Linked DNA regions of Homo sapiens: region 2 is linked to region 1. The links are contacts of gene promoters, found by promoter capture Hi-C in blood cells and fetal thymus (Javierre and others, 2016). All regions are on one chromosome and are shown on one strand. The core of a region is centred on a gene start or on the middle of the fragment in contact, and the rest is flanking DNA. Distances in the headings are between cores, read along the strand shown. Region 1 holds the start of ERCC4 (ERCC excision repair 4, endonuclease catalytic subunit). Region 2 holds the start of LOC642696 (a long non-coding RNA gene).

Region 1 (5,937 bases), core at 308-2,807:
GTGGCCTTGCCCAAGTTATATAACCTCCCTGCACCTCCATTTTTCTCACTGGCAGAACTGACGAGATTAATATCTGCCTCAGAGGAAACGCTGTATGTAAAGTGTCTGCCGGCAACCCTTTCCACTTAAACAGCATTCAGGAATTATATGCTATTTTCATCTTGACAAAATGTAAGCAAAATACCAGATTAAGCAGTAAAGAGGTAGAGGAACAGATCCTCTTGGAAACGGCTAGTGTGAATGTGAATTGGTATAGGCTTTCTAGAGGGCAATGTGGCAATGTGAATGGAATGAAAAGCCTTACAAATTTTTTTCTCTTTATCCCAGTGATTATTCATTTCTAGACGTGTATCTGAAGGCCACGGCTGAATTTACATACAAAGATGTTTAGTGAAATATTATTTATATTACTGGAAGGGAAAAAGCAGAAACAGACTAAATGTCCTCTAATAAGCAATTAGGTAAGTACACCCACATAATGGAAATCTCATCAGCCATATAAAAGGACTTTGTAAAAGAATATGAAACATCATGTTCAGAGGTTTGCCAAATGTTAATGACAAAGCTGGGGATTTAAATCAGGGATATTAATTATCTCGTGTCGGTAAAAGAACTCCGTGTGATGAGAGAATGTGTATATAGATAGAAAAAAAAGGACTAAATAAAATAGATTTCGTGATGTTAACAGTGGTTATTTCCAAGTAATGGAAACAAGTGATTTTCATTTTTGTTTACTTGTATTTTCTATTTTCTAATAACAAAGGTGGGGGGTTTCTATACAAAACAATTCCTCTACTAGTTCAACTATCAGGCATTTCTAGGTATAGAACAAACACTGCGGGAGGTGTCCCTCTAGTGGAAGGAGGGATTTTTAAAAATAGTTTATTGTATTGAAGTCTTTGGGAGGCAAACAGAGGTCTGAAGTCAGTAAATGATTCTGCTTATTCCACAGCCACTGCACTCCAGCCTGGGCAACATATCAACATCCTGTCTCGGGAAAGAAAAAAAAAATTAAAAGAAGGATGGGGAGTAATCGCAAAAGGAAGGGCCAAAAACCACCCTAGGAAACAGGTGCTACTAACTCTTGGCGCATTTGGAATATTGACCAGTAACTTTTTCAACTGTCGATGTCGGGGGATTAAGCTCCTTAGGCTTACTTCCCCTTCCCTTGCTTTTTGGCAGCTTGAGGCTAGGGTGCCAGGGGATGTGGAAACTCAAAAGAGACGTGAATGGAGCCTGATATCTGCAAGCTACACCGACAGGGGGCGCCAGCCCCTACAGGTGACTCCATGAATCTTCGGCTCCACTCGGCTCTTCTTCGGCTGAGTTCGGCCAACGCTTGCCTTCTCAGGCTCGGCTCTCTTCGGCTTTCTGAGAGCGCGCCTGTCGTGGCCTCGGCTCCTCTTCGGCTGCGTTCGGCCCACGATCATCTCAGTCTCAGCTCTCCTCGGCTACGTTCGGCTGGCTGCCGTCCTCTCGGACTCGGCTCTCTTCGGTTGAGTTCGGCCTACTCTCCACTAGGAGTCGGCTTCCTTCGGCTGCGTTCGGCTGCGACCCGGAAGAGCTTCCATGGAGTCAGGGCAGCCGGCTCGACGGATTGCCATGGCGCCGCTGCTGGAGTACGAGCGACAGCTGGTGCTGGAACTGCTCGACACTGACGGGCTAGTAGTGTGCGCCCGCGGGCTCGGCGCGGACCGGCTCCTCTACCACTTTCTCCAGCTGCACTGCCACCCAGCCTGCCTGGTGCTGGTGCTCAACACGCAGCCGGCCGAGGAGGTGCGGCCGCGCTGGCGCGGGAGTGAGGGGACTCCGAGAGTGTTGAGGGCCTCCTGAGCGGATGCGAGGCCTCTGACAGGGATGGAGGGGCTCTGAGGGGGATTCAGGCCCCTGACACTACGCGATGACACAGAGAAGGATGGCAGGGGTCCCCAGGGGGATGCAGGTCCCTCACACTGCGGGAACACAGACGTATGTAAGGGGTCGCTAGGAGGATACCGGTCGCTCACACCGTGCGGGGACACTGATAAGAATTGGAGGGGCCCCGAGAAGGCTGCAGGTCCCTGGCAGGAGTTGAAGAACACTAAGAGGAATGCCAGTCCCTGACACTGTGCGGGGACTCTGAGAGGGAAGGGAGGGGTCCCAAGAAGGATGCAAGTCTTTGACCAGAGTTCAAGAACACTAAGAGAAATGGGAGGGGTCCCCAGGGGATGCGGGTCCCTGACACTGTGCAGGCACAGTGAGAATGATGGAAGGGGTCCCGAGAAGGATGCAATTCCCTGACAACACTAAGAGGGATGGGAGGGGTCCCCAGAAGGATGCAGGTCCCTGACATGGGTGCAAGGGCACTGAAAGGTGAAGGGGCTCTGAGTGGTAGGAGAGGATCGGAGGTCGCTGCAGGGGAGGGGGAGATGTCGGAAGGAGGATCTGGATAGGAATAACGGGAGAGTCCTGAAGTTGGCCATTAAGGGAGTTTCTGGGGGCAGAAGGAAGGTCCCTGAAAGGGAACAGTGATGAGGATGGAAGATCTCTGAGGGTGATGGGGAGACATGAAAGGAGATGCTGAGGCGCTGGAAAAACCCCAATAGGGAAAAGGAGGGACCAGGAAATAGGACATTCACCAAGGCTGTGTTAAGAGGGCCATAGGGTCAGAAAGGGATTGGAGCTTGACGCTGAGGATGTTGGCAAAGGTTAACTACAGTTAAGGACAATGGAGAACACTGAGAAAGATGGAATGGGGCTACACATGGGTCTGAGGGGTGTTGAGAGGGGACACAGCTTGGTCGGACAAGTCTGATGATCCCCTAGATATATCAGGTGGCCGGGAGAAAAATGTCAGCTGAGAAGAGTGACCACAGTCTCTTTGAGGGCAGGGATCCTGTTTGATTCATCTAGGTATCCCCAGTGCTTGGCATAGGGCCTAAGGCAACACACAGGGCCTAGTAAAGATGGTTTTAAACTGGGGATATAAATAAACCAAGCCAAGGGACCCAGTGACATGAAGTCCCTCTAGGATAGATTAGCACAGAACTGATAGTCTAAAACATTGTCTGGGGAAAGGATTCCCTTGTTATCATCTCATAGAATGTGCTTGGCTACAAACCTGGCTTTGGTGGGAAGTATTTTCTAGGTAGCAGAAATCTTTTAATCCAGGCTTTTAAAAGTTTGAGGTTTTGTATGTGTGTGCATATGTTATTGTAGTTGAGTGCTGATAATGACTGAAGTGCAATTATTCCTTAGTGTAAACCCCAAAACAAGAAAACCTCATTAAATGTAGACTGGTTGGCTGAAGTTACTATAAAGAAGTAACTTAGTGTGTATATTCATTATTAAGTTCATTATCTCAGAGAAAGACAGCACATTATTTTAAATATCTGTGACCTATTAAAAACTGCCCTGTATTAAATAGCCTACTAATCAAGTTTGATTTGATTTAGGAGTATTTTATCAATCAGCTGAAGATAGAAGGAGTTGAACACCTCCCTCGCCGTGTAACAAATGAAATCACAAGCAACAGTCGCTATGAAGTTTACACACAAGGTGGTGTTATATTTGCGACAAGTAGGATACTTGTGGTTGACTTCTTGACTGATAGAATACCTTCAGATTTAATTACTGGTAAGAATTTGAAATCTTATTATTAGTATGTAAATTTGTACTTTTTTTTTTTTAAGTACAATTTCCATTTTATTTTTCTCCAGAGAATAGTCTGTCTTCAGTCTTGAAGGACTCAGCTCCCTACATCACCTTTGGTAGGGGTCGTGGGGCAGCACCCACAGGTCTAAATCTGGGTGGGGGTGTTCGGTCCTTGCAGGCTTCACAAGATCGATTCCTGACTACTTTGTTGTGAATTGCACAACTCACACAGTAATTTAGCTTCACATACATCTTGGGAAGCACATAGGCGTCGAAGATGCTCGCTTCAGAAATGTCCCTGACTGCTGTGGCCTCCACTGTGTTTTGAATGACGAATTTCTTAATGGCTTTATCCTTGGGCACACATCAGGCACAGTTCGTGCAGCAAATAGGCTGCACATGGCCGCAGCCCTTTTTGGCATGACCGTTGTCCTTTCTTTTCTTTGTCATCTTGGAGGCACGGACCGGAGAGGGTATTTTCTACATTTTTATTTTTGTCTGTCTCCTCTGCTGAACGCTCTACTAGAACCTTCTAGTGGGCACTACTGGATCCTTTTGTTCAACATTATGCTTCCAACTTTCAGCATGATACCTGACACATTGTAGATGCTCAGTAAATATCTGTGACCTGAATAAGTAACTAAATGTTAGATTAACTTTTCATTGTTTTCTAAGCTCTTATTCAGTAAATACTTGCAATTCGTTAGCATTTGCTTTTAGAACTTAATCAGATTTGAAATGTTTATAAATAATCTTTGTATATTTCCTAAAATATTTAGTTTTCCTCCTTAAGATTTTTTTGGCATTATTTGAAATTAAATCAAGTAGTTGCTTGCTTATTTTGAGGAAAAATTATTTTAGCTAGAATTAAATAGAAAAGAAATTCATTTTCATTATCCTTTCAAAACCTTTTCTGATGTCCCCAAAGCTAATGTAGGGGCTGTGCCTCTGTGCCCTCATATTACCCTGTATTTCTCCCCAGTCATAGTGCTCACAACACTACATTATATTTATGTGTTTGTCTATCTCACTCACAAGATAAGCTGAAGCACAAGGAACAAGTTGTTCATCCCAGGCTAAATAACTGGTACATGGTAGGCACTAAAGACGTATTTGTTGGGTGAATGATGGATGGATATAGTACTGTGATCGTTAGTGAACTTCTGGAGGCAGAGAGACTCTGAAATTCATAATCTTATTCCCACTGTATCTGTCATGTTGCCCTGAACCTAGATGACCCTCAAGAAAAATTTGATAAATAAATGTGTCAATGAATGCTTCAATGGTAAACCGACTGAAGAAGTTTGGTTACTCTTTTATAACTTTTATAATTGTTATAAACAGTATCATAGGCTCACCTGGTTTTGAATGCTAACACCCTGCTTACAAAGCAAACTCCTTAATTTTCATTAACCCCAGTTTTCTCATTAAGAAAACAGTGCTTCCTGAAGTTATTATAAGGATTAAGTTAATAAAATAATTTCTTAGTATAGTGCCTGGTACACAACAAACTCTTAGTAATTCATACCAAATAAAATTGGCCTTTTGTAACCAGAAATCTTGATACACCAGTCTTTTACTGTTTGCTGCTTTCTTATAAGCTTGGTTTTACTTTATTTTTTAAATTGATTTAAAAAAATTTTTTTGTTGTGTTTAAAACTACCACTAGGTGTCAGTAATATCCTGTGACTTTCAGTTACAGTGCAACCTAATTAGGCAGAGAGCAATGTGAATTTATGCAACGTTGAAGTCTGGCTTATCTGTAGCTCCTAATGAAAAATGCCAAATTCCCTCCTCCTTTCTGATCAAAGCCCACCGAATAATGAAGCTGGAGCTGTTACTGATGCTTGGCTGAGTGGAATGTAAATGAATGCCAAAAATGAATTCTTTTGAATTCTTTCATCCCCTGGGATCATCCCCCAGGACTGACCAAAGAGCAGTGCGTGAAGTGCAGGTAACCCTCTGGAAAGGCTGAATCCCCCAGCCCCAACTTCTTCACCTGTCACCACCCATTATTACCACCACACCCCACCCTGGGAATCCCTGCTAACCAGAACTCCTAACACGTGGGAGAACTATATAAATATCTGGTGAGGTTGTACCTTGAAAAGAACAGGACAGGAGGATGCTTTCATTGCCAAAACTGACCCTGACATCTCCAGACAGAACTAAGAACACACTTTCTGGGAAATATATATGTATTTTTCAGTTACACTTTTGATTTGTGTACCCAGTGCTGTGCCTCCACTTTATATTCATTCAACAAATATTTAACTCACTAAGGGTCCCTTGTTTGGCAGGAAG
Region 2 (5,858 bases), core at 491-2,990, 1.8 Mb before region 1:
GAGGCAGAGTGAGACTTTGTCTCAAAAAGAAAGAAAGAAAGAGAGGAGAGAGAGAGAGAGAGAAAAGAGAGAGAGAGAGAGAAAAGAGAAAGAGAAAGAAAGAAAGAAAGAAAAAGTGTGTGGTGGTGGCACCTGGCATCTGCCTGTAGTTCCAGCTACTTGGGAGGCTGAGGTGGGAAGATTGTTCGAGCCTAGGAGGTCGAGGCTTTAGTGAATAATGATTATGACCCTGCACTCCAGCCTGGGTGACAGAGCAAGACCGTCTCAAAAAATAAAATAAAAAAATTAAAAAAACCCAATAGAAAAAAACCTGCAACTATTTCTGCCCAGTGTCCATAGTATAATATGATCGCCACACTGCTACTCTTGGTTTATATACTGATGAACAAGAAGCAAAGGTCCTGCCCTCAGAAGCTGTCAGAACTGTGGGGAAGACAAGCAGCAAGCATTAGAAAGGCAAAGCCTATGCCCTGTTTTAAGGCATGTTTCAGGAAAGGGCTTCTCTCAGATGTCAGCGGGGCTGAGGTCTCAGGATGGGGGGTTTGGCCTGTTTTGGTGGCGGGTGGTACCGCTGGCATTGCGCTGCCAGAAGTGAGGGGGAGAGTGAGTTGGAGGATGCTGGAGAGGGTGGCTCGTGTAGATTTTATCCCACGTACAATGGGAAGCCAGTGGAGGACTTGAAGCAGGGGCGATAGGATTTACTCACTTCCTCTTGCGAAGAGCAGGCTCTGAAGCCTGCTTGCCACGCAGAGCACACTCAGCAGTGCGTTCCTTCCGTCCTTCACTGCTCCTTCCCTCCGCCCTCCCTTGTACAGGCAGTGCTGAGGGCTCCCCTGTGTCTCGGGGTAGGGAGTCCTGAGTTGACTTAGCGGCCATACTCTCAGGCTGCTGACAGTCCTGTCACTGCCCTAAGCACGGTGCCCTAACACCCGTGAGTCATAGAGCTGTGCTAGGTGCAGCAGGAGAGACGCGTCCCAGCGGGGAGTTCTGGAGCCAGGATGCGGGGTGGGGCGGTGCGCGGGCCGGTATCAGAGTCCTGGCTTCCAGCCTCAGCTCCACCACTTCCTAACTAGATTTCTCTTTCTTTTTTCCTTAAAGACTCTCTGGTCCCCTGTCCTCATTTGTGAAATGAGGACATTCTCACCGGCGTCTCAGGGGTGTTCTGAGGTCCAAACGTACTAGCTTAGTAAGGCATTAGACTTGAGTGTGGAACCGGGCATCCTTTGTGATTGGAGCCTTCTCAGCTACCTGGAAGCTTTTACGGTGGGGAGCGGCGGGGCTCTAGTTCTTCCGGGTTAGGACTTTGCGCAGGAATGCAGAGGCAGTGGGAGGGAATGGGGGTAAATGTTCCGTGCCGCCTCACGCGGTTATTGATGGTAGGTGGTGGCGTTGCTCCAGGGAGGCCAGTTCCTCTTGAAGTCACATCTGGAGACCCCCTTGGGACCAATTTTTAAGCCCATTTGGTAGCTCCCCAAGGGTTCAAGTGCCAGCTCCAAACCCTAGTCCCGGGGTTTAGGGTTTGAATTCTAGGATGCTGCCTGGTTTCCCATTTCCATCCTGGTTTCTCTCCAGATGGCCTCTGCCAGTCTTCACATATCAAATCCATCCGTAAGTTCATTCCTATTTCTGGGGCAATTCTAGATTTTCCTTCAAAGAGTGCCTGGAAGGCCAGGTATGGAGGCTCACACCTGTAATCCCAGCACTTTGGGAGGCTGAAGCAGGCAGATCAATCACCTGAGGCCAGGAGTTCAAGACCAGCCTGGCCAACATGGTGAAACCCTGTCTCTACTAAAAATACAAAAATTAGCCAGGTGTGGTGGTGCATGCCTGTAATCCCAGCTACTCGAGAGGCTGAGGCAGGAGAATCACTTGAACCCAGGAAGTGGAGGTCGCAGTGAGACAAGATCACACCACTGCACTCCAGCGTGGGCGACAGAGTGAGACTTCATCTCAAAAAAAAAAAAAAAAAAAAAAAAGAAAGAAAAAGAAAAAAGAGCGCCTGGAAAATAGTAATAATACAAATACTTTCTTATTCATTTTACCTACCATAAACCAGGCTTTACCTTCACTAATGCTTAATCTTCATAGCATCCGTGTAAAATAGGAGTGCTAGACTTGTTCTGTAGTTGAAGAAACTGAGAGGCTTTGCTGAAGGTCATACTGCTATTGGGTGGTGGAGGCAGGGTTCACACCCGCTCCCCCTCCTTGCCGTTCCTGGAGACCCACAAGCTTGTGTAATGCCCCACCTTCAGAGAAAAGCACCCAGGTCTCAGGATGTCCCCTTTGCTATAGACTGAATGTTTGTGTGCCCCTAAAATTCCTAGGTTGGAATCCTAACCCCCAGTGTGATGGTGTTAGGAGGTGGGCGTTTGGGAGTTGATTAGGTCATGAGGCTGGAGCCCTCATGAGTGGGATTAGTGCCCTTAAAAAAGGGACCCCAGAGGTTGGGTATCATGGCTTATGCCTGCAATCCCAGCACTTTGGGAGGCTGAGGCAGGAGGATTGCTTGATCCCAGAACTCGAGACCAGCCTGAGTAGCACAGATAGACCCTGTCTCTACACACACACAAAAATTAGACTTGGTGGTGCGTGCCTGTTGTCCCAGCTACTTGGAAGTGAGCCCACTTTGAGGTGAGCCCAGGAGTTTGAGGCTGCGGTGAGCCAAGATCATGCTACTGCACTCCAGCCTGGGCAACAGAGCAAGATCCTTCTCAAAAAAAAAAAAAAAAAAGGGACCCCAGAGACCTTGTTTACCCTTTCTGCCATGTAATGATGACACAGCAAGAAGGCGCCATCAGTGAACCAAGAAGAGGACCCTCACCAGATCCCGAATCTGTCGGTGCCTTGATCTTGGACTTCCAGCTGCCAGAACTGTGAGAAAATCAGTCCCTGTCGTTCACAGTGCACCGGGTCCATGGTGTTTTGTTTTCGCAGCCCTACTCGGCGGAGGTGCTCCTGCAAGAGGCCCTCTTTCCCTGGCCGTCCATCTAGAAGAGCGCAGCACAGGCAATCTCATCCCATCCCCCCAAGTGCAGCACTTCCCTGGCTGCTGACTTCAGGTTTCAGAGCCCCCTGTAACCTCACTCCCCTCTTTAGTTTCTTTCCTGTAGCCCCCACTGGGATACAAGCTCCCTGAGTAGACACACTTTGTCTGCTAGTTAATTGCCATTTTCCTCCTCCCCCAAATCCTGCCTGACAAGTAGTTGTTCAAGAGACATTTAAAGAAGGAAGGAAGGAAGGAAGGAACAAAGGAACTAATGTTTATTTTAGTTCTAACAAGCATGGAGAGTTAAAAGTGCATTCTGCAGGAATGAATTGAAACCGAGTTCCCAGAGGGCGGGCTCCAGTCTGTTATAATCACCATTGTGTCTCTATCTCGGGATGCAGTAAAGGCCTGGTAATATGAGTTGCTCAAGGGAGTGGATTTTCACCTTTTTTCCTCTTGTGTCAGGGAGATGCAGCTGGTTGTAGTGGAATGATGCATTACAAACTATTTGCTCTCAGTGAATGGGAACACTTGGTTTTGATCCTGGCTCTGAGAGTAGTAGGTCGCTTGACCTCTCTGTGCCTCAGTTTCGCAAGCTATGAAGTGGAGGAGGCTTCCCTCAAGGATTCTTTGTGGTGCTGACCATCTGTTCTGGGAAAGGAGCCAGAATATCCACATTCTCATTTGCGGTGATTAAAGAACCACTCTGCTGAAGTTTCTCATGACTTGCCTGACCTCGTTAGTTTCTTTGATACCAAAGACAGGTGTCTTCCTTTCCCCCTTGCCTACTGTCTCCTTTACACATGTGGTGACATTCAGGTGAATTTGAATGGCTTTTGGCTAGGCAAGCCAGTATCAGTAAACACACTGGCTTGGACATTTGGCCCATAACTTTTTATACCCGAGGCCAGGTGTTGGCCGATGTGGGAAGAGGGCTGGAAAGAGGCAGAATGGTATTTGTGTGAGTGCCAGACCCCTGTGGACTGTTTTGCTGAGATGCTGTCTTATGGAGTTTGTAGAGGTGAATCAACAACTGTCTTTGTGAAAGGCAAATGTCACCTTCAGGTTTTAATTCTGAGTGGCCAGCAGCCCTTACATTGCCACTGTATATCATCAGAGCCACTAGAATATTAGATATGTAAATCCTTTCTGCACTTTACACATCCTTTAGTTTTGTAGGGCCCTGATGTCAGTGATCACGGCAAGTTGAGAAGCAATGTGTTGGGATGGAAAGAACATGGGTCAGGCAGACCACAGCACTGCTGTTCAAGAGCTGTGTGGCTACGTGCAGTGGTTCCTGGCTGTAATCCCAACACTTTGGGAGGACAAGGCAGGAGGATTGCTTGAGGCCAGGAGTTCAAAACCAGCCTGGGCAACATAGTGAGACCCCCTCTCTTTACAAAAGAAGAAGACAGAAAAGCCAGACATGGTGGCACGTGCCTGTAATCCCAGCTACTCGGAAGGTTGAGGCAGGAGGATCTCTTGAACCCAGGAGTTGTAGGCTACTGTGAGCCTTGATCGCACCACAGCCTGGGTGACAGAGTGAGACCGTGTCTTAAAGAGAAAGATCTATGTGACCCCGGGCAAATGCTTTAATTTCTCTGAACTCGTTTTCCCAGTCCTTGAAATGGTGGTAATATTATCCCCTTGGTGGATTCCTGGGAGTTATATGAAGTGTCTGTTGTATCTGGGAACCTCATTGGAGGCTCATAGATAGTTTTAGAGATTTCAGATACCTCTTGCAATTGTGTGCAAAATCGTGCTTGTGTGTTTGTGCACATACGTGGATTTTCCTGGGGAGAAGTTCCTTTGCTTTCACGACTCTCCTTCAGAGTGTTCCAGGCTTTAGAAAAAAGTAAGAAACACGAAACACTTCAGGTAGTTAGCAGGTGGTAATTGCACATAGTGTCTGGGGCAACACTGGCAATCGTGGTATCATTATTTTTGTTTTTACTGTTCTGCTTGCTGATGTTAAACCAGCTACACTGGCTGTGTTCTTACGCACATCCCTACATGTATTAGCAGTGGGAACCTGGGCAAGTTATTTAAGCTAACTGTGCCTCAGCGTTCTCGTCTATAAAATGGGGCTATCATAGTACCCCTCTGACACAGTTGTGAGGATTAAATGAACTAACAGATGGAAGATACTCAGAAGATACACTATGTAAATTACCACCTGAGCTATCGAAGGGTGTTATATGCTATGTAAATTATACCTTGATAAGAAAAATTGGAAAAAAAATCCAAGAGAGTATCTGGCATCTTAAAGACTGAATAACTGGTAGGTGTGATCATTAACAACACCCTCAAAGGGTACGTTGCTGACGAATCTTCCTGAAAACAACATCTGGGCCTTATTGTTGAACTGCAAATAGGTTGACCTGATTTTCCATCTTACTGAAACCATCCCTCCTGCAGAGGCCCTGAAGTTCCCTTTAGCTGGTATCTACCCCTCAATCCTCCCTCTGGTTAAGAGGACATAAACCAGGCTACTCTTTCTATGAGGCCTGAAAATTGGAAGTGATCACGCAGGATGGTGGTTCTTAGCTGGGGGTGATTGCAACCCCCAGGGGACATTTAGCCATGTCTGGGACATATATGGTTGTCACACCTGGGATGAGGGTCCTTCCGGCATCTGCTAAGTAGAGCCCAGGGATGCTGCTGAACGTCCTGTGGTGGACAGGACAGGTCCTCCCAACAGGACAGCTCCTCCCAACACAGCATTATCTAGTCCCAAACGACAGTACTTGAGAAACCCCAAGACAGAAGGAAGCAGCAGGGCCGTTTTCCAGGAACCGTATTTTGTCTTAGGCTTTTTTTTTAAAACCTCTCGCCTCCTGCATAGGTCAAGGAATGAAACTTAGGAAAAAAT

The links. Contacts are between HindIII fragments. The CHiCAGO score rates a contact against its expected background, and 5 or more counts as called.
Region 2: a contact is called between a fragment that was not itself captured here and the fragment with the promoter of ERCC4 in region 1, in 2 of 17 cell types (total CD8 T cells and naive CD8 T cells). The highest score is 5.9, in total CD8 T cells.

What each region holds. Positions count from the first base shown.
Region 1 is chr16:13,918,597-13,924,533 of GRCh38, forward strand. ERCC4 (ERCC excision repair 4, endonuclease catalytic subunit) reads left to right here and starts at 1,558. Exons shown (of 11, transcript NM_005236.3): 1 at 1,558-1,776; 2 at 3,435-3,615. The coding sequence starts at 1,570. All of the region lies in intron 1 of LOC105371093 (a long non-coding RNA gene), which reads right to left. LOC124903647 (a long non-coding RNA gene) reads right to left here and starts at 1,482. Exons shown (of 2, transcript XR_007065001.1): 1 at 1,083-1,482; 2 at 869-987. It also overlaps the pseudogene RPS26P52. RefSeq lists enhancers at 1,142-1,191, 1,402-1,761, 1,802-2,011. The HindIII fragment of the contact is 6,939 bases long and covers 1-5,232 here.
Region 2 is chr16:12,089,063-12,094,920 of GRCh38, forward strand. The region is part of intron 11 of SNX29 (sorting nexin 29); the gene reads left to right. It overlaps LOC642696 (a long non-coding RNA gene), which reads right to left and starts at 878. Exons shown (of 2, transcript XR_109256.5): 1 at 707-878. RefSeq lists a silencer at 797-846. The HindIII fragment of the contact is 974 bases long and covers 1,254-2,227 here.